7 separate regions of the Homo sapiens genome follow, and regions 2, 3, 4, 5, 6 and 7 are each linked to region 1. Evidence: promoter capture Hi-C in 16 types of primary human blood cells and fetal thymus (Javierre and others, 2016). All regions are on one chromosome and are shown on one strand. The core of a region is centred on a gene start or on the middle of the fragment in contact, and the rest is flanking DNA. Distances in the headings are between cores, read along the strand shown. Region 1 holds the start of ERCC6 (ERCC excision repair 6, chromatin remodeling factor). Region 2 has its middle 38 kb from the start of WDFY4. Region 3 has its middle 22 kb from the start of WDFY4. Region 4 overlaps WDFY4 (WDFY family member 4). Region 5 overlaps WDFY4 (WDFY family member 4). Region 6 overlaps WDFY4 (WDFY family member 4). Region 7 has its middle 6.5 kb from the start of MIR4294.

What was found. The method cuts DNA at HindIII sites, captures the fragments that hold promoters and counts their contacts. A CHiCAGO score of 5 or more calls a contact.
Region 2: a fragment that was not itself captured here is called in contact with the fragment with the promoter of ERCC6 in region 1 in 1 of 17 cell types (neutrophils); the score reaches 6.6 in neutrophils.
Region 3: a fragment that was not itself captured here is called in contact with the fragment with the promoter of ERCC6 in region 1 in 4 of 17 cell types (neutrophils, endothelial precursors, monocytes and 1 more); the score reaches 5.4 in neutrophils.
Region 4: a contact is called between a fragment that was not itself captured here and the fragment with the promoter of ERCC6 in region 1, in 1 of 17 cell types (M0 macrophages). The highest score is 5.6, in M0 macrophages.
Region 5: a fragment that was not itself captured here is called in contact with the fragment with the promoter of ERCC6 in region 1 in 1 of 17 cell types (M0 macrophages); the score reaches 5.6 in M0 macrophages.
Region 6: a fragment that was not itself captured here is called in contact with the fragment with the promoter of ERCC6 in region 1 in 5 of 17 cell types (naive B cells, M0 macrophages, M2 macrophages and 2 more); the score reaches 9.5 in naive B cells.
Region 7: a contact is called between a fragment that was not itself captured here and the fragment with the promoter of ERCC6 in region 1, in 1 of 17 cell types (M0 macrophages). The highest score is 8.9, in M0 macrophages.

The regions. Positions count from the first base shown.
Region 1 is chr10:49,537,856-49,540,412 of GRCh38, forward strand. It overlaps ERCC6 (ERCC excision repair 6, chromatin remodeling factor), which reads right to left and starts at 1,266. Exons shown (of 21, transcript NM_000124.4): 1 at 1,107-1,266. RefSeq lists a silencer at 909-1,198 and enhancers at 1,619-1,678, 1,709-1,948. The HindIII fragment of the contact is 12,532 bases long and covers 1-2,557 here.
Region 2 is chr10:48,645,455-48,648,011 of GRCh38, forward strand. It overlaps a transcript of ARHGAP22 not described here. Among named protein-coding and RNA genes, the nearest start is that of WDFY4, 38 kb to the right of the region's middle. The HindIII fragment of the contact is 3,792 bases long and covers 1-2,557 here.
Region 3 is chr10:48,661,519-48,664,075 of GRCh38, forward strand. No RefSeq gene overlaps it. Among named protein-coding and RNA genes, the nearest start is that of WDFY4, 22 kb to the right of the region's middle. The HindIII fragment of the contact is 2,889 bases long and covers 1-2,557 here.
Region 4 is chr10:48,886,128-48,888,684 of GRCh38, forward strand. All of the region lies in intron 43 of WDFY4 (WDFY family member 4), which reads left to right. Among named protein-coding and RNA genes, the nearest start is that of LRRC18, 52 kb to the right of the region's middle. The HindIII fragment of the contact is 2,691 bases long and covers 1-2,557 here.
Region 5 is chr10:48,952,294-48,954,850 of GRCh38, forward strand. The region is part of intron 51 of WDFY4 (WDFY family member 4); the gene reads left to right. Among named protein-coding and RNA genes, the nearest start is that of LRRC18, 14 kb to the left of the region's middle. RefSeq lists an enhancer at 1-340. The HindIII fragment of the contact is 6,093 bases long and covers 1-2,557 here.
Region 6 is chr10:48,974,599-48,977,155 of GRCh38, forward strand. It overlaps WDFY4 (WDFY family member 4), which reads left to right. Exons shown (of 62, transcript NM_001394531.1): 58 at 264-443; 59 at 2,199-2,381. It overlaps LOC105378298 (a long non-coding RNA gene), which reads right to left. Exons shown (of 4, transcript XR_007062370.1): 4 at 2,381-2,502. Among named protein-coding and RNA genes, the nearest start is that of MIR4294, 9.7 kb to the right of the region's middle. The HindIII fragment of the contact is 939 bases long and covers 811-1,749 here.
Region 7 is chr10:48,990,832-48,993,388 of GRCh38, forward strand. No RefSeq gene overlaps it. Among named protein-coding and RNA genes, the nearest start is that of MIR4294, 6.5 kb to the left of the region's middle. The HindIII fragment of the contact is 3,569 bases long and covers 1-2,557 here.

The DNA.
Region 1 (2,557 bases), core at 16-2,515:
GGGATTACAGGCATATGCCATCATGCCCGGCTAATTTTTCGTATTTAGTAAAGACAGGGTTTCACCACGTTGGTAAGGCTGGTCTCGAACTCCTGACCTCGGGTGATCCACCCACCTCGGCCTCCCAACAACGTGCGTAACTTTTAAGACTAGAAAGAGCTGATGCACTTGTGAAAATGCAAGAAGGCTGGAACACCGAATTTTTGACTTTATTTTTAACTTTGAGTTAAGAAGAGCAGAGAAGGGCTCCGTTCATGGCCTAAGTCTTGCAGAGTATCTTCTAAGGCTTAATCATCTGGGACACTAGTATCTTCACCGTCCTCCCCCATCACTGGGGCTCCCGCAGCCAGGGGCAAGCTGGGTCTCATTTGGAGGGTTGGTCGGACACAGGCACAGTTCTGAGAGGGGACAGGCAAGGGCCAAATCACACAAGGCCTGGGAAAACACGAGCATGGATTCCACTCCCAGTGCAATGGAATGACTCTGAAAACTGTTAAGTAGGCTGATGATGGCATGACCTACTTTATGCCAGAGACCACCTGGACAACTGTGCGGATAATGGATTGGAGGAGACAAAGCAACAAGAAGATGATGGGAAAAGTTGAGGAGAAAAGCGAGGGCTGCCTGTCACAGGATGACAGCAGTTAAGACGCTGCGTGGAAGTCACGTAACAGCAGCATTTACAGGCGGCCTGCCTCATCCGCCCACACTCTTATCAATTTGACTCTATCAACGCCCAAAACGTCGGACGTACATCTAGCCCGACTCTCTTTAAAATAACAGCTCCAGCATTTTAATCGAGATCAAAAAGGACCCAGCTGACCCTGCGCGCAGGGGGCCTTATACAAAGTCGGAGAAGTAGCTGGGTCGCTGGCCGGCCAGGGACTCAAGCCGCCTCAGGTGAGCGCTCCTTGGCGCTACTTCCGGTCTCAGGTGAGGCCGCCGGAAGCGGGCACTTGGCCCTAAGACCCGCTACAGTGCGTCCTCGCTGACAGGCTCAATCACCACGGCGAGGCCAAGGCGCGGGGCCGCGGCCCGCCCGAGAAGCCTGAGCTGGGCCCCGACACCCCCTGCCCGACATTCGGCCGGGACCCCCGAACACTCACCCAGGGCCGCGCGAGCGCCCACAAGGAAACAGAGACGCTACCGCCGCCAGCCGCCTTGGAACCCAGCTCGACGGGCCGTGGCGCCTGCGCCCTCAGCTCAACCATAGACACCGCCCCCAACAGCGACTCCGACTTCTGCTGGTGCGGGGAGGCCCGTGGCGCATGCGCCTGGCTCAGCGTTTGTTTTTAAGCACGGGCAAGACCACGTGGTTTGGAGGGACGGGCTCAGCAGCGCCTTTCTACTTGCGTGCGAGCAGGGCGAGAAAGCTGTCTCCGCTGCCGGTCAGCTGGGTGGCTTGCGAAGGACGCTTCGCCCCTAGCGAAAAATACCCTGCTGGCAAGGCAGTTATGAAAGTTAAGACATATTTCCACGTAGAGGGGGATGCGGGTGTGCCATGCGAATGTAAATCCTCACAATTAACCTTGAACCCTGCAGAGAAAGTCAGCTTGGGCAGGGAAGTTAGCCGCACTTTTTGGTCGCCAGGCTGTGACCTCTCTTGTTGTCTCCCACGACTGAACACGGGAAGGATGGAGAGCTGTCCTGCTTCTCTGTTCCCCCTCCGCCACGCGCGCACCTGGGCGGAGTGAGTGCCTACAGAGCCTGCTTACATGTGTACATTGCCTTAAGTCCAGCGTTTAGTATCCGTCCTCAGATCTCAGAGGTAGGCGGGGTTTCGAGGCAGGCGAGAATTTTACCGTGGTGCGTTTGAAGAAAGAAGATGTCCACACAGAGGTTCAGAACAATGGGAGGAAGTTGAGCTTCGCCTGGGGAAAGAAGCAGCCCACGATGCAGGATGGCTGTACCAGACAGAGCTTCTCAGCTCAGGATCGGTGCTAGGAGAAGGTGGACTTTCCAGGGCCGCGAGGCAGGACGTCCTCTGGGAGGGCAGTGACTGCGGGTCACTGCCTGGGAAGTGCTGTCCTCACTTGGAAGCCTGAAGTCGGACAATAGGGAAATGGGGTCGGAAAGGGGACTAGGAAATGCTCCATAACATCATCTTATTCCTCCTGTCAGCGGCCCCAACCCACAATGTAACTTGTTTTTGTTGGTGGTAGTGGGTTTTTTTGTTTGTTTTGTTTTTGTTTTTGTTTTTGAGACGGAGTTTTGCTCTTGTCGCCCAGGATGGAGTACAATGGCACGATGTGGGCTCACTGCAACCTCCTCCTCCCAGGTTCAAGCGATTCTCCTGCCTCAGCCTGCCGGGTAGCTGGGATTACAGGCGCCTGCCACCATGCCCAGCTAATTTTTGTGTTTTTAGTAGAGACGGGGTTTCGTCATGTTAGCCAAGCTGTCCGCGAACTCCTGACCTCAGGTGATCCACCCGCCTCGGCCTCCTAGAGTTCTGGGATTACAGGTGTGAGCCACCACGCCCGGCTTGTAACTTGCTTTTTTTTTTTTTTAAAGGAGAAAGAATTCTAGCGATTTCTTGGATAAAATATTAAGAATAGAA
Region 2 (2,557 bases), core at 32-2,531, 890 kb before region 1:
GTTTGACACCTGAAAAAATCAATTAATGTTGTACATCTATTACACATCTATATATTTTATTAATAGAAATAGAATAAAGGACAAAACCCATATAATCATCTAATGGATGCAGAAAAGCATCTGACAAAATCCAATAGCCATTCATGATTTTAAAAAACAACAACTCTCAACAAACTAGGAGTAGAAGGGAAATTAATGTGTTAAAGGGTATCTATGACAAACCCAGAGACCAATATCATATGTAACCATGAAAATACTGAATGCTTTCCCCTTAAAATAAGGACAAAGGCAGAGGTAGCCACTTTCTCCACTTCTAGTCAACAATATACTGTATTATTCTATCCAGTACAATAGACAGTGAGAGACAAAGGGAAAAAAGAGGGTCGGGAGAGGGAAGGAGGGGAAGAGAGGCAGAGAAAAATTTAAAGCCAGATTGGAAAGGAAGAAGAAAATCTGTCTTTATTTGCAGATGATATGATACTGTGTTTGGAAAATTATCACAAGAACTAATTTAAAAATCTGCTAGAACTAATAAGTTTTTCAAAGTTGCAGAATACAAGATGGACATAGCAAAAATCAATTGTATACCTACACATCAGCAACAAAAACTCCATAAATGAAATTAAGAAAACAACACCATTCACAATAATATCAAAAAGAATAAACTATTTAGAAATAAATTTAACAATGATGTGAAGACATGCAGAAAACACTTCTGAGAGAAGATTAAGAAGATATAAATAATTAGAAGTACATTTCTTTCTCATGAAGTTAAAGAATCAATATTGTCAGGATGGCAATTATCTTCCAATGAATCTACAAATTCAATGTGATTCCTATCAAAATCTCAGAAACATTTTATGGGGTGGAGAAATTGGCATGCTAATTTGAAATTTTATATAAAAACACAAAGGGCCTAGAATAGGCAAAATAATTTTGTAAAAGAATAAAGTTACACACTACCTATTTTTACATTTTCTCCAAAGTTATAGTAATCAAGATAGTATGGTATAGGCACAAGGATAGGTCTACAGGTCAATAGAATATAATTGAGAATCCAGAAGTAAACCCCAATATTTGTGGCTAGCTGATAGTTCACAAAGGAGCTTGGGCAATTCAGTGGGGAAAGGAAAATTTTTTAACAAATGGTGTTGGGACAATTGGCTATCCATAAGCGAAACAGCAGCAGCAACAACAACAACAACAACAAAAACCCTTCAAACAAACAAGCAACAAAACAACCCTTTGACTGTACCTCATACTATATACAAAAATTAACTCAAAATTGGTCTTAGCTCTAAATGTAGATGCTAAAACCATACAACTTCTAGAAACAAACACAGGAGAAAGTGTTTGTGATGTTGGGTTAGGTGGACTCTTAGATACCATATCAAAAGCATGATTCATAAAAGAAAAGATAGAAAAACTGAACTTCGACAAAATTAAGATTTTTTGCACTTTAAAATTTAAGTACACCATTAAGAAAATTAAAAGTCAAGCCACAGACTAGGAGAAAATTTAGGCAAATTATATATCTGATAATAGATTTGTATCTAGAACATGTAAACATTCTTACCACTCTAATAAGACAGACAACCTGATTTAAAAATGGGCAAAAAATTTAAATAGGCATGTTACCAAAGAAGACATACAAACAGGCTGGGCTTGGTGGTTTACACTTGTAATCCCAACACTTTCGCAGGCTGAGAGGGGTGGATCACCTAAAGTCAGGAGTTTGAGACCAGCCTGGCCAACATGGTGAAACCCTGTCTCTACTAAAAAGACAATAACTAGCTGTGCGTGGTGGTGGGTGCCTGTAATCCCAGCTACTCAGGAGGCTGAGGCAGGAGAATCGCTTGAACCGGGAGGCAGAGGTTGCAATGAGCCGAGATCACGCCATTGCACTCCAGTCTGGGCGACAAGAGCAAAACTCAGTATCAAAAAATATAAAAATGGAAATAAAAAGGCATATGAATAGTTAATAAGCACAGGAAAGTACATTCAACATCATTAATGGTTAAGCAAATGCAAATCAAATCCCCAATAAAATACCACTTTACACCCGCTAGGATAGCTATAATAAAACAATAGCAAGTGTTGGTGAGGATGTGGAAACATTGGGACCCTTATGTATGAGGTGGGATTGTATGACGGTGGGAATGTAAAATGGTACAGAGATTTCAGAAAACATTTTGACAGTTTCTTAAAAATTAAAAAATAAACCTACCATACGACCCAGCAAGAGAAATGAAAGCCGTGTGTTCACAGAAGCATATGCATGTGAATGCTCATAACAGCATCATTCGTAATAATCCCAATCCAAAAACAACCCAAAAGTCCATCAACGGGTGAGCGGAGAAACACAATGTGCATCCCTACAAGGGAGTATTACTCAGCTACAAAGGAGCACACTGATCACTGATTCACACGAGAACATGAATGACCCTCAAAACGTTATGCTACATGAAAGAAGCCCAATGCAAAACACTACACAGTTTATGCTTCCGTTTATAGAAAATGTCCAGAAAAGGCACATTTATGAAGACAAAAAGCAGAT
Region 3 (2,557 bases), core at 29-2,528, 880 kb before region 1:
CTATTACCACCCTAGATGTGCCACTGCCATTCTTGCTTGGCCTCATTCAAGAGCCTCTGCACTGGCTTCTATGCATGCTCTATTGTCCCCAGGCCATTCTCCATGCAGCAGTAAAATGTAAATTGGGGCATGCCATTTCCCTGCATAAACACCTCAATGGCTTCTCATCATGTTGAGCCTCAAGTCCAAACTTCCTGCTGGATCTTAGAAGGCCCTCCCTGAGAGGTCCTTGCCTGTTTCTCTAGTTTATCTTGGTCCTGTTCATGCTCAATCCCCCTACCCTGCCACTGCCACCTTGTTGGCATTTATGCTTTCAGCATACTGGCCACTCAACTCCTTTCTTGCCCCAGGGCTTTTGTACCTGCTTCCCACTTCTTGAAATGCTCCCCACTTCTTGAAATGCTCCCCCACACTTCTTCAGTAAACACTTCTTCTTTTTTTTTTTTTTCTTTTTCTAGACGGAGTCTCACTCTGTTCCCCAGGCTGGAGTGCAGGGGCGTGATTTCCGCTCACTGCAAGCTCTGCCTCCTGGGTTCACGCCATTCTCCTGCCTCAGCCTCCCAAGTAGCTGGGACTACAGGCGCCCACCACCACGCCCGGCTAATTTTTTGTATTTTTAGTAGAGACGGAGTTTCACTGTGTTATCCAGGATGGTCTCGATCTCCTGACCTCGAGATCCGCCCGCCTTGGCCTCCCAAAATGCTGGGATTACAGGTGTGAGCCACCGCGCCCGGTCCAGTAAACACTTCTTAGTTTGTTGAATGAACAAATACATACTAACCTGTTAGCACAGGGATTTTTATCCTTATTTCATAGCTGAGGACTGCAAGGCCCAGAGGGGCTGACTGTAATTTTTCAAGACATTTTTGGTTAAAAAAAAAAAAAACCTAATGGTTTTAGCAAAACCCTTGAGATGACCTCTGAATGGACCATCATGGATCATGTGCACAGACCTGAACCCATCGTTGCAGCTGGGGCAGGGAACAGTCTCATATGGTGGGCCTTGGTCATGCATCCATCCCACTGCTGAGGGTGGAATCAGTTCCAACCAACACACATGGTGTGAGGATGAGTGAGGGGAGGCTTCTAAAGCAGCTTTATTTGTAATAGCCTCAAACTGGAAACAGTCAAGATGGTTAAACAGGTGAATGGTTAAACACCCTGTGCACAGCCATGCCATGGATTCTATCTAGCAATGAAAAGGAAAGGACTATGAATGCTTGCAGCCACTTGGGTGGATCTCAAGGACATTACGTTTAGCGAAAAAAGCCAGTCCCAAAAGGACATAGGCTGCATTATTTCATGTATATAACATTCTCTAAATGAGTTGGAGAGCAGATGAGAGGTGGCCAGGGGTTAGGGACAAATGGGGCAGAAGGCAGGTGTGACTACAAGGGACAGCATGAGGGATAGCTTACAGCCACAGGATAGTTCTGCACCCTGGTGGTTACATAAATCTGCATGTAATACAACTGGAGTGATAGACATTGCATCAATGCCAGTTCCCTGGTTTTGATATTGTACTAAGTTATGTAAGATAGAATCACTGAGAGACACTGAGTCAAGGGGATCTGGGACCTCTTTGATTATTTTTGCAACTTCCTGTGAATCTGCAAAAGAGTAGGTACTCACTAGTGGCAACAATATACATTACCAGTCTAACATGTGTACACATAGATAGGTCTTGTTAGGATGTTGAAACTGTGCCAATGCATGTTATTATTACTACAGTTTTAAAGATTTCTCTAAAAAATCAAAAAGCAAAATGTATATGATAATTAAAGAATACAAAAAATTAAAAAACATTATTTGATAAAATTAAATTCTTATTGTGATTTTAAAAATAAAAAATAAATCTAAAAATTAAACTGTTAGCATTTCTGGTGTTTGTTTTGCATCTAGTGGGTGCTATGAAGAATCTATGTCATACTTCACGCAAGTGACATTATACATCCAGAACAACACATATGCATCTAAGAGGGAGTGAGCTGTTTAATAGCATGAAATATTTCCAGGCTGCAATGAAGAACCATTGTGAATTTTGCAATGATATATAAGTACCTATGAAACTATGAATTTGAACTCAAAGAGCAGAAAAAAAAATACATGTCTGGCACTATTCAGAGATGAGATTTCTTATGGAGAACCTACTACATTTAGGTGATCTGAGAGGAAGCCTCTGGAAGTTTAGATTTTTTTCCTATTGCTTCCACGTTCAATTCCTCCTAGACATGGAAGCAATGTTCCTGCTGGCAATGGCACAACCCATAAACCTAAGCTGATCCTGCAAGCCAAATCCATAACATTTGGATCCAATCACATTTTCTTTTGAGGACATACATAGGGCAAGAGATGAGGTGCTGGACAATGCCAGTCCAGTGAGCAGGTGTGCAGGGTCAGGGCCATGGGTCATGCAGGGCAGCACTGGGCACACCTCTCGAGGAACAGAGGTGCCCATTCCATACATCCATGAATAGATGTGTGCTGTTTGGGTTCTCATGGGCCCTCAAAGTGTAGAGTCCAAGATAGGGCCCTCCTTGGTTTCCTGGACAGGTAG
Region 4 (2,557 bases), core at 30-2,529, 650 kb before region 1:
CTGTTGCTGGGTACCTTCAGTCACCTCTCTGGACCTCAGTTTTCCTACCTATAAAATCAGGGTATTTCACCAAGTTGCAGACTGCTAATGCTAGAGAAAACTTTAGAGAGTATCCGGTTGACCTTGCCCATTATAGATGTACCACTGAGGCCTGACTTTAGAAGAATGTGCTGCTGTGTGCTACCACTGAATGTCCCAGTAGATTGTTGTCTCCCTGCTATGGTTTGAATGTCCCCCAAAATTCTTGTGTTGGAAACTTAATTGCCATTGTAACAGTATTAAGAGATGGGGTCTTTAAGAAGTGATTAGGCCATGAGAGCATGACCCTCATGAATAGATTAATGCCATTATTGCAGGAATGGGTTCATTATTATGGGAGTGGGATCCTGATAAAAAGGATAAGTTCAGCCCCATTTCTGTCTCTGTCTTGCATGCTCACTTCCAGCTTCCGCCCTTCCATCATGGGGTGACCCTCACTAGATGCCAGTGCCATGCTCTGGGACTTCCTGTCCACCAGAACCAATAGCCAAATAAACATTTATCTCTATAAATTACCCAGTCTGGGGTATTCTGTTATAGCAGCAGATAATGGACTAAGACACCTTCTAACTTTCGCTCCAGCATTTTGTTGATTTCTGGACAACCTGTTTGTCATCATACACAGAGCTAGCTGTGGCTACTTTCTTAGTTATTTTACCCATCAAGAGTGCTAATATATCATTCAGTTGATCTTAAAAAAGCTCTACTTATGAGGCAAAAGTTCTACTCTTTAAAGTGATCAATAGAATCATGGCATAAGGGATTTCTTAATCATGAGTAAACTTAGGGATGGAGCCCTCCTAGGGCTAATTTAAATGGAAGAGCAGGTAATAGTTCACTTGGGTTCATTTTCTAGTTTTTAAAATGCCATTTCTTTTCTAGCAGAATCAATGTTTAAGCTATTAACCCAGCTCTCACCAGACATTTTTCTTGTGGTTTGGCTTATTCTGGTTGATACTTAAGTCTTCCCAAAGGGAAGCACCAGATCATAGGCATGTGCTCTGAGACCCTGGTGCAGGCACCATGGAGGCTGTGGTGGGGGCCTGGTGTCACAGGGAGGAGAGAGGGTTTGGAGGCACATAGGCCAGGGCTGGCATTGCAGAGCCACATCATCTCATCATGTGAACCTGAGGTTGGGGTCTCTGAGTCTCATCTGGGAAAAGGTACAATAAGAGAAAAAGTTTAAGCAGCCTGACATAATCTTCCTGATAGTCCTGGTGGGAGTGTAAATTAGTGTCACCTTGTGGGAGGGTAATCTGGCAATGGCTACTTGAATTAAAAATGCCCATACCCTTGACCTGCAATTCTGCTTATAGAAATTTATGCTTCAGGCCAGGCGCGGTGGCTCACGCCCGTAATCCCAGCACTTTGGGAGGCCAAGACGGGCGGATCACGAGGTCAGGAGATCAAGACCATCCTGGCTAACACGGTGAAACCCCATCTTTACTAAAAAATACAAAAAATTAGCCGGGCGTGGTGGTGGGTGCCTGTAGTCCCAGCTGCTCAGGAGACTGAGGCAGGAGAATGGCATGAACCCAGGAGGCGGAGCTTGCAGTGAGTGGAGATCTCGCCACTGCACTCCAGCCTGGGCAACAGAGCGAGACTCCATCTCAAAAAAAAAAAAAAAATTTATGCTTCAGATTTACTTGTGTATTCAAAATGACTTATCTGCAAGGATGGTCATTGTAGCATTGCCTGTTATGTCAAAACATTTGAAAGCCACCTGAATCAAAAAAGGACTGACTGGTCAAATAAACTGTAGCATATCCATTCAAGGGAATAGTCTGCAACTATTAATAAGAATTAGACAGCTCTATGATAAATGATTTGGAAAATTATCTAAGATGAATTGTTAAGAGAAAAGTCTAGATGCAGAGCAGTAAGCATATAAATGTTCTTTGTGTAAAAAAGAATATGTATAAACATGCTAATGTATTCATACAATCTCTTTGGAAGAATATCCAATAAAGTGGTAATGGTGGTTGCCCCTGGGGAAGACTACTAGAGAACCTGGGAATGCCACACAGTTACTCAAGTCCCAAAGTAGACATTTATCATTTATCCTCAATTCATCCTCCGTCTCCTCCCCTCCCCTCCCCTCCTTTCCTCTCCCCTCCCCCTCCCTCCCTCTTTCCTTCCTTCCTTCCTTTCTTCCTTCTTTCCCTTTCCTTTTCTTTTCTTTTTCTTCTTTTTGCTTTCCAGTTAGTCCAGTAGCAGCTCCTGTCAATTCTCCATCTTCTTGTTTAGATACACCCACTTCCTTCCCTCTGCATTCTGCCATCCATCCCAGACCACTGAAATAGCAACACAACGGGGCACCCTCCTTTCAGTCTTGACCCTTTCTAATGCCATCTCCACCCAGCAGTCAGTGTCATCTTTTGGAAACAAACTCTCCCATGGCTTTCTGTTGCAACCACAATAAAACCCAAGGGCCATGCTAAGGTACCTAAGACCACCTATGATGTTGGTACTCCTAATTTCCAACTTCATCTTAGCCGTACTGACCACTTTCTGTTCC
Region 5 (2,557 bases), core at 16-2,515, 590 kb before region 1:
ATAGGGCCAGCCTACCCAATGCAGCCAGGGCTGTGGGGCTAGACATAGAAACTGCCAGCCTCCCTCTGATTACAGTGAAAGGGCATGGGATCTGTAAGGGCCCAAAGTGTGACTTGAGGAGAATCATTCAGGATCTCCAACACCGTCTGGTTTTTATCATACAGACTTGAGGAGTATTGGAAAAGCACGTGCAATAGAGACAGACAGTCCCGGGATAATCTCCTGGCTCTAGAACTTTCTAATTGGCATTATTGAACAACGGAGCCTCAGTTTCTTCATCCTTTAAAATAACCCCTAGCTGGGAGGGTGGTGAGGACTAAAGGAGATACGACATGAGCCATTTTGGCTGACCTTAGTGTCCCCTACGTGCCCACCCTCCTCCTCCTAATGCAGGCAGCGTGGTTTCAGCAAGTCTTGACGGGTTCACTCATTTAGAAAAGAGCCACCACCTACAGGAAGGAAAGCTAATGGCCACTCTGGGGTCATCCCGTCCTCTGTGAGAGCAAGACCAAGGAGGCAGCTGGACCAGTGCGTGGGCTTCCCAACGCCATGAGGGTCCTATGCCTTTAGCTTATTCAGTAGCGTGTCAGGGCCTGGCTTTTTCCTGCAGAGGCTCAGAGAATGCTGGGTCCAGCTTTCCTTTCCCCTCACACATTTGCCCCGTTACTTCTGAGGTGCTGTTGCTACCAAAAGCTGCCCTGACAGTTCAGGCTCTCCTTCCTGTTGTCATCCCACAGTCCTTCAGATTCCCCACCCTCCTACCTCTGTCCTCGCCACTGGAAGATCCCGCCTCTCCTCACTTCCCCCTGTACCCCACCTCCTACCTTCCATAACTTCTATCCCCTTCTCCTTTGGAGCTCCTGGTTGCCTTCCCCATGCACACTGAGATCAGGGCCCAAGCCCAGGATTGCTCCCTAGTTCTAATCCTAGTCTGTGAAGGGAAAAGGACACAGGGGCTGGGTTCATTTGGCACCTCTTTCTATGTGCCTGCTTCATCGCATGAGATATGTCTCTCTCTCTCTCTCTCTCTCTCTCTCTCTCACACACACACACACACACACACACACAATTGCTTTCACACCAACAGCTATCATCCAGGGTTCATAGACAAGGGCATGGGCGGTTAAAGAGATTAAGAAACTCACTTGAGTTCATCCTGCAAGTTAAGTGGGCACTGAACTTCCTGCCCAAGCCAGTCTGCTTCTGAAGCCAGTGTGCTTTCCACCGTTGCATACTGCCTCTTTGATTGGCTAAAGACAGCAGGTTAGATCAACTGATATATCAACAGGGTCCTGTAAGTGAGTTGTTTGCATGGGTACTTTTAAATTACTGGAAAGAATATCTGCAGTGAGAATGGGTTGTCAGCCTGCTGATAAAACCACTTCCATATCCAGATGTGGCAGCAGGTTGATTTGGATCAGTGTTATCAGGAAGGAAGAATAGACTTTCTAGCATATATTATAGAAATATCTGTGCATCTTGGTTTCCTTCAGCATGTGCAGTTACTGAATTTCCTGTGAATGTGGGCCAAGAATTGAAGCCACATTGGAGAGGGGTTTATGAATGTCTAATAGTGATTGAAATGCTCATCCATAGGCAATGGTGCACATAGACTTTGTGTCCTCTCATGAAAGGAGTATTTCCTTTAATATAGAACATTTCTTTTCAGGTTTTCCAGCTTTAGCCATCATACCATAATTATAGACTGTCCCCTGATTTTAACTTGGATCAATGTGCAGGAATAGTCCTTGCTAGCCACTTCTTTTCCTATTATTTTGCCCTCAATTTTGCTTCATCTCTTAGCAATATTTAGCACCTCCTAAAGGATTTTAATTGAGAAGAGGTACCTAGGATTATATTGTTTCTGAACTCTTCAATATTCAAAATGTTCCCACATCTTTACATGTGAGTGATGTCTTAACTGAGCACAAAATCCAACAACTGTAACCTTTTGCCTCAGAATCCTCTAGGCTTGGCTGGCTCCATTGTCTTCTGGCCTAAATGTCACATGGGAAAACCTTCTGCCAATAAGAAATTGTTCCTTTGTTGGCAATAATAACCTTGCTATTATTTTTTACAGTTTGTTTGGATACAGGTAGGATTTGTTGCAGAACAGATTCCAGAGCAGCTCTTGGTTCAGGAATTCTCTTTGATCACTTTGTTCCCTTCCAAGTTCTAGACTTAATTGTGCTGGTTTATTTCATTTGGGTCTGGACTTTCCTTAGATAGACACTCTGTAAACCTTGACTGGGTCTCTCTGCCTCTTACCTTCTTGCCCCATTTTTCCCTCTTCTCTTTCTTTCCTCCTTCCTTCCTTTCGGAGAATTCAATCTTAGCTGGGACTGCTCGCTGGCAGCCACCAGAGTTTACATCAACCCACAGACTTACAATACAAGTAACAAAGCAACTCCACTTTTTCTTCTAGGGAATTTGGTGTTTTCTTTTGTATTGCAGAAGTGAGAAGACCCATTAATTTTGAAACAAATGTATGCAAATACATTTATTAATATAGCAAATAGGAAAATCAGTTATTGCTTCCTTTATAAATAATACAGGC
Region 6 (2,557 bases), core at 30-2,529, 560 kb before region 1:
TAGCCTCTGGTTGGGTTATAAGTAAAAAAATGGTTTCTCCCCAGCAGAGCCTCCACCCCTGGAGATGAATGAAATGGAGAGGCTAGTCATGGACACGCACATGCACACACCCCCAGCTGCACAGACAACAGACTTGGGAATCACTGACTCACTCAGAATCTCCATTTCCTCATCCAGCACCCAGCTTTATAGGGAGGGTGAAGAATTCCCAAAAGTAGCTGAATTGAGGGTCCCTCTCCTAACCTGTGAGTCTCTGTCCCCAGGCCTTGTATGGACACACACAGGCTGTCACGTGCCTGGCAGCGTCAGTCACCTTCAGCCTCCTGGTGAGCGGCTCCCAGGACTGCACCTGTATCCTGTGGGATCTGGACCACCTCACCCACGTGACCCGCCTGCCCGCCCATCGGGAAGGCATCTCAGCCATCACCATCAGTGACGTCTCAGTAAGTCTCCTGTTTCTCAGTGTCCGTGTCCTCACCTTCGCAGTAGCATGGGGTACAACACTCAGGAGAAAGCCCAGAGACACAGAGACTCTAGCCACCCCAGAATGCTGAGAGGGCCCCCAATTGTGTGGAACAGTCGCTGTAGATCTCACTTGTAGCACCCAGGTCTAGCTTCAATGTCCGCTTCTTTACTTTCCTCCCTCTGGTGTTGGGGACAGTGGGAAGTGTCTGCTTTGCTGCGGGCACCAGGGGGCTGCAGCTGAAAAATTGGCTTTTAGGGAGGGTTTTGTTGGATGTGGCTGACTCATTTAGGTCTTTACCTTCAAATCAGTGTTGACTTGGCAGGTTTGGTCTTCATGGCAGTGCAAGCTTCTCTGCCTCTCCTTCCATACTGGCTAACAAAGACCAGGGAGATCGACTTACCGGTGTGAAATTTCTTCCAGACTGAAGCCCTGTCATGGGATATGGGGTTCCCTGAGGATGCAGAGGTTTCTGCATCTGCTCACAGAAAACCTAAGGGGCCCAGGGCATAAATAAAATGGGCAGAGGGCTCAAAAGAGGAGGGATGATATAGGAGCTTCCTGGTTCCAATTTTTGCTGAAAGTGGTGCTCCAGGTAGGCTTGAATTCAAAACTGGATTCAATGTTAGATGAGTAGATGGAGTGTGAATGGATGGGTGGATGGATGGGTAGATGAGTGGATGCATGGGTGGATGAATGGATAGATGGATGGACGGGTGGATAGATGAGTGGATGGGTAGATAGATAAATGAATGGATGGATGGATGGATAAATGAGCAGATAAATGGATGAATAGGTGGATGGAAAGATGGATGAAATGGATAATGGATTGGTAGATGGTGGGTGAATGGATGGATGGGTTGATGTATAGAAGGCATTGAAGCCTTCACCTGGGAGAATATAAAACCCATCAGGAATTGTGTCCCTAGACCCCAGAGAAGCCTGGCACCAGGACAAGTTGTCCTGCAGCCAACTGATTTCAGTCTGTGCTTGCTGGTTGTGGGGCAGAGAGGTATCAGACATGGCCTCTGGCCTCAGACAGACCATCCCTAACAATTCAGGAACTTCTAATGGATCCCAGCCCAGTGAGATGTGGAGGGGCACTGAGCACCCTACATCCCTTCTGTGATTAGGGCAAGGCTCAAAGGGATGGCCCCAGGACCTTGGTGACAGTGGCCACTATAGAATAAACAGGACTTGAGGAGGAAAGACTCAAATGTGAGCATATCAGGAGATACAATGGGGAAATTTCTCCTTAGAAATTCCCTCTTCAGGGACATTGCACAAGCTTATGAGCCACATGCAGTCATTGGAACTTCTGTACCCTGCCATCCACCAGGTGGCATCCAAAACTTCTTTATGGGGCAGGGCTGACCTACCAGGTGTAAGCTGTGTGTCCAAAGCCAGGGCTACCCTTCAGGCTGGATCTTCTGTGGCAGTCAGGGTGTGGTTGGGGAGTGGGATCTGGGAGGAGCCTGAGGGTGAGCCAGGTGCCTTCTGCCAGGAAAGAAGTATCTAAGCACATGACTGCAGTATGAAAAGAACCAAGAATTTACAACTGTGTGAAAACACAGCAGACCTGTAAGTCAGCTGGAAAGAAGTTTTGGGGTACCTTGGGGGTCTTCAGAGCATGACAGATTGAGAGTACTTGGGTGTACCAACTGGGTAGCTGAGCAAGTGGCTGATGGGCAGGCAGTGACTCCAGCTTAGAGTGATGCCAGCTCTCACTGCACAGGGCACCATTGTCTCCTGTGCGGGAGCACACTTGTCCCTGTGGAATGTCAATGGACAGCCCCTGGCCAGCATCACCACAGCCTGGGGCCCAGAAGGAGCCATAACCTGCTGCTGCCTGATGGAGGGCCCAGCATGGGACACAAGCCAGATCATCATCACCGGGAGTCAAGACGGCATGGTCCGGGTAGGTGTGTCTTGGGCAGAATGAGGACATGACACAAGAAACGTGTTCATCTCCATTCTTCTCACTTCCTCCAGGGGGCCAAACCTGCAGGTTGCATTTGAGACCATTCCAGAACGGGTACCTACAGCAAAGGAAGGGAAAAGACAAGGCTCTTTGCAGGGAAAAAGTAAATAAAT
Region 7 (2,557 bases), core at 16-2,515, 550 kb before region 1:
ACACACACACATACATATATATGCATACATATATACATACATGTATATATATACACACCTACCTATATGTATACATATACATACATATATGCATCTATACACACACATACATACATATATGTGTGTGTGTATATATATATAAAGGGGAGTTTATTAAGTATTAACTTACATGATCACAAAGTCCCACAATAGGCTGTCTAAAAGCTGAGGTGCAAGGTGAGCCAGTCTGAGTCCCAAAACTGAAGAATTTGGGGTCTAATGTTTGAAGGCAGGAAGCATCCAGCATGGGAGACAGATGTAGGCTGAAGGCTAGGCCAGTCTCACCTTTCACGTTTTTCTGCCTGCTTTATATTTTCTGGCAGCTGATTAGATTGTGCCCACCAGATTAAGGGTGGGTCTGCCTTCCCCACCCCACTGACTCAAATATTAATCTCCTTTGGCAACACCCTCACAGACACACCCAGAATCAATACTTTTTTCAATCCAATTAAGTTGACACTCATTATTAACCATCACAAGGCCACCCCTTGTCAACTTGAACCCACACACATCTCCTGATATCATACATAATCTTCAAATAAAGAAAACAATAAGGTCATAATTACACCTAACTTAATAAAACTATCCTTTGTACAACCGGAAACACACCAATCCCCAACCCAAATACTATTACCTGAAGTTAGCAACACTTAAATGCTGACATGAAGTCAATAAATCTTATGTCACATGTTAAAGAAAAAGGAAATAAAATGAAGATATTTTCTTAGTACAAGTGTATACATGCACAAACCTGTTTTTAACGAAAGAAGGAGGAAACATTCATGACAGGTACAGTCCTCGTTTCTGCAGCTGGTCATGTAGTTGTAGCTGGTATCTATGACTACCTTCTTCAACTACCCATTCTGGATTCCCTCTGCCTTCAGCAAGCACCTCAACAGGTCGTGGTTTTTTTCCTGGTAGAGTGACCCAAACCTTCACTCCTGAGGGGTCTGGGTCATTTGTAGTCCTGCCTGAATTGGGCTGTTGTAGTTTCCCATTGATCTTAATCACAGCGCATGGTAATACTAGGAGACACCCAAGTGGATCTCCTGTATTCTTCCTTACCTCTGTTATGCATACTCTTCCTTACCTCTGTTATGGTGTAGCAGACTGATTTCATCTTGATAGTCCGGGTCAATCACCCCAGTCAACATTGTAACTCCCTTCTTAGCCTGTTGAAGGAGCCCAAAGTGTCCAGGTACAATCTTAACTTTCAGTTTAATGGAATTGTTGTTGTGTTTCCTGTTGGCAGTGTTCCTCTCTCAGGAACTAAGACCGCTAGGCCACCAGAATGTAATGTCATGGGAACAGGAAGGAAAAATTTTGTTAGTGGATCACTAGGGGTGATGGTGAGCGGTGCCACTTCCATTTCCACCCCCTGATTCTTGGGCCTATGAATCCTGGCTATAAGAGAAATAGTGCCATATATTGGACACTGATTCAGAGCATACATGGCCTTCTAGAGAACCTTGTCCCAGCCCTGCAAAGTATTGTCACCTAGCTGGCATTGTAATTGTGACTTCAAAAGTCCATTTTTACCGTTCTATCAATCCAGCTGCTTCAGGATGATGGAGAACGTGGTAAGACCAGTGAATTCCACGAGCATGAGCCCACTGCTGCACTTCTTTAGCCACAAAGTGAGTGCTTTGGTCAGAGGCAATGCTGTGTGGAATACCTTGATGGTGAATAAGGCACTCTGTGAGTCCGTGGATGGTAGTCTTGGCAGAAGCATTGCATACAGGATAGGCAAACCCATATCCAGAGTAAGTGTCTATTTCAGTGAGGACAAATCTCTGCCCTTTCCATGATGGAAGAGGTCCAATATAATCAACCTGCCACCAGGTAGCTGACTAATCATCCTGAAGAATGGTGCCATATAGAGGGCTCAATGTTGGTCTCTGCTACTGGCAAATTGGGCACTCAGCAGTGGCCATAGCCAGGTCAGCCTTGGTGAGTGGAAGTCCATGTTGCTGAGTCCATGCATAACCTCCATCCTGGCCACCATGGCCACTTTGTTCATGGGCCCATTGGGCGATGACAGGGGTGGCTGGGGAAAGAGGCTGAGTGGCATCCACAGAAACAGAATGGGTCATCCTATCCACTTGATTATTAAAATCCTCCTCTGCTGAGTTCACCCGTTGGTGAGTGCTCACATGGGATACAAGCATCTTCATGGTTTTTGACTACTCCGAGAGGTCTGTCCACATACCTCTTTCCCAAATTTCTTTGTCACCATTTTTCCAATCATGCTTCTTTCAAGTCCCTGACCATCAAGCCAAGCCATTGGCTACAGCCGATGAATCAGTATATAATCGCACATCTGGCCATTTCTCCTTCCATGCAAAGTGCACAACCAGGTGCACTGCTCAAAGTTCTGCCCACTGGGAAGATTTCCTTTCACCGCTGTCCTTCAGGGATGTCCTAGAAAGGGGCTATAATGCTGCAGCTGTCCATTTTCGGGTGGTGCCTGCATATTGTGCAGAACCATCTGTGATGGTTCTCTTCCTCCTTCTGTCAT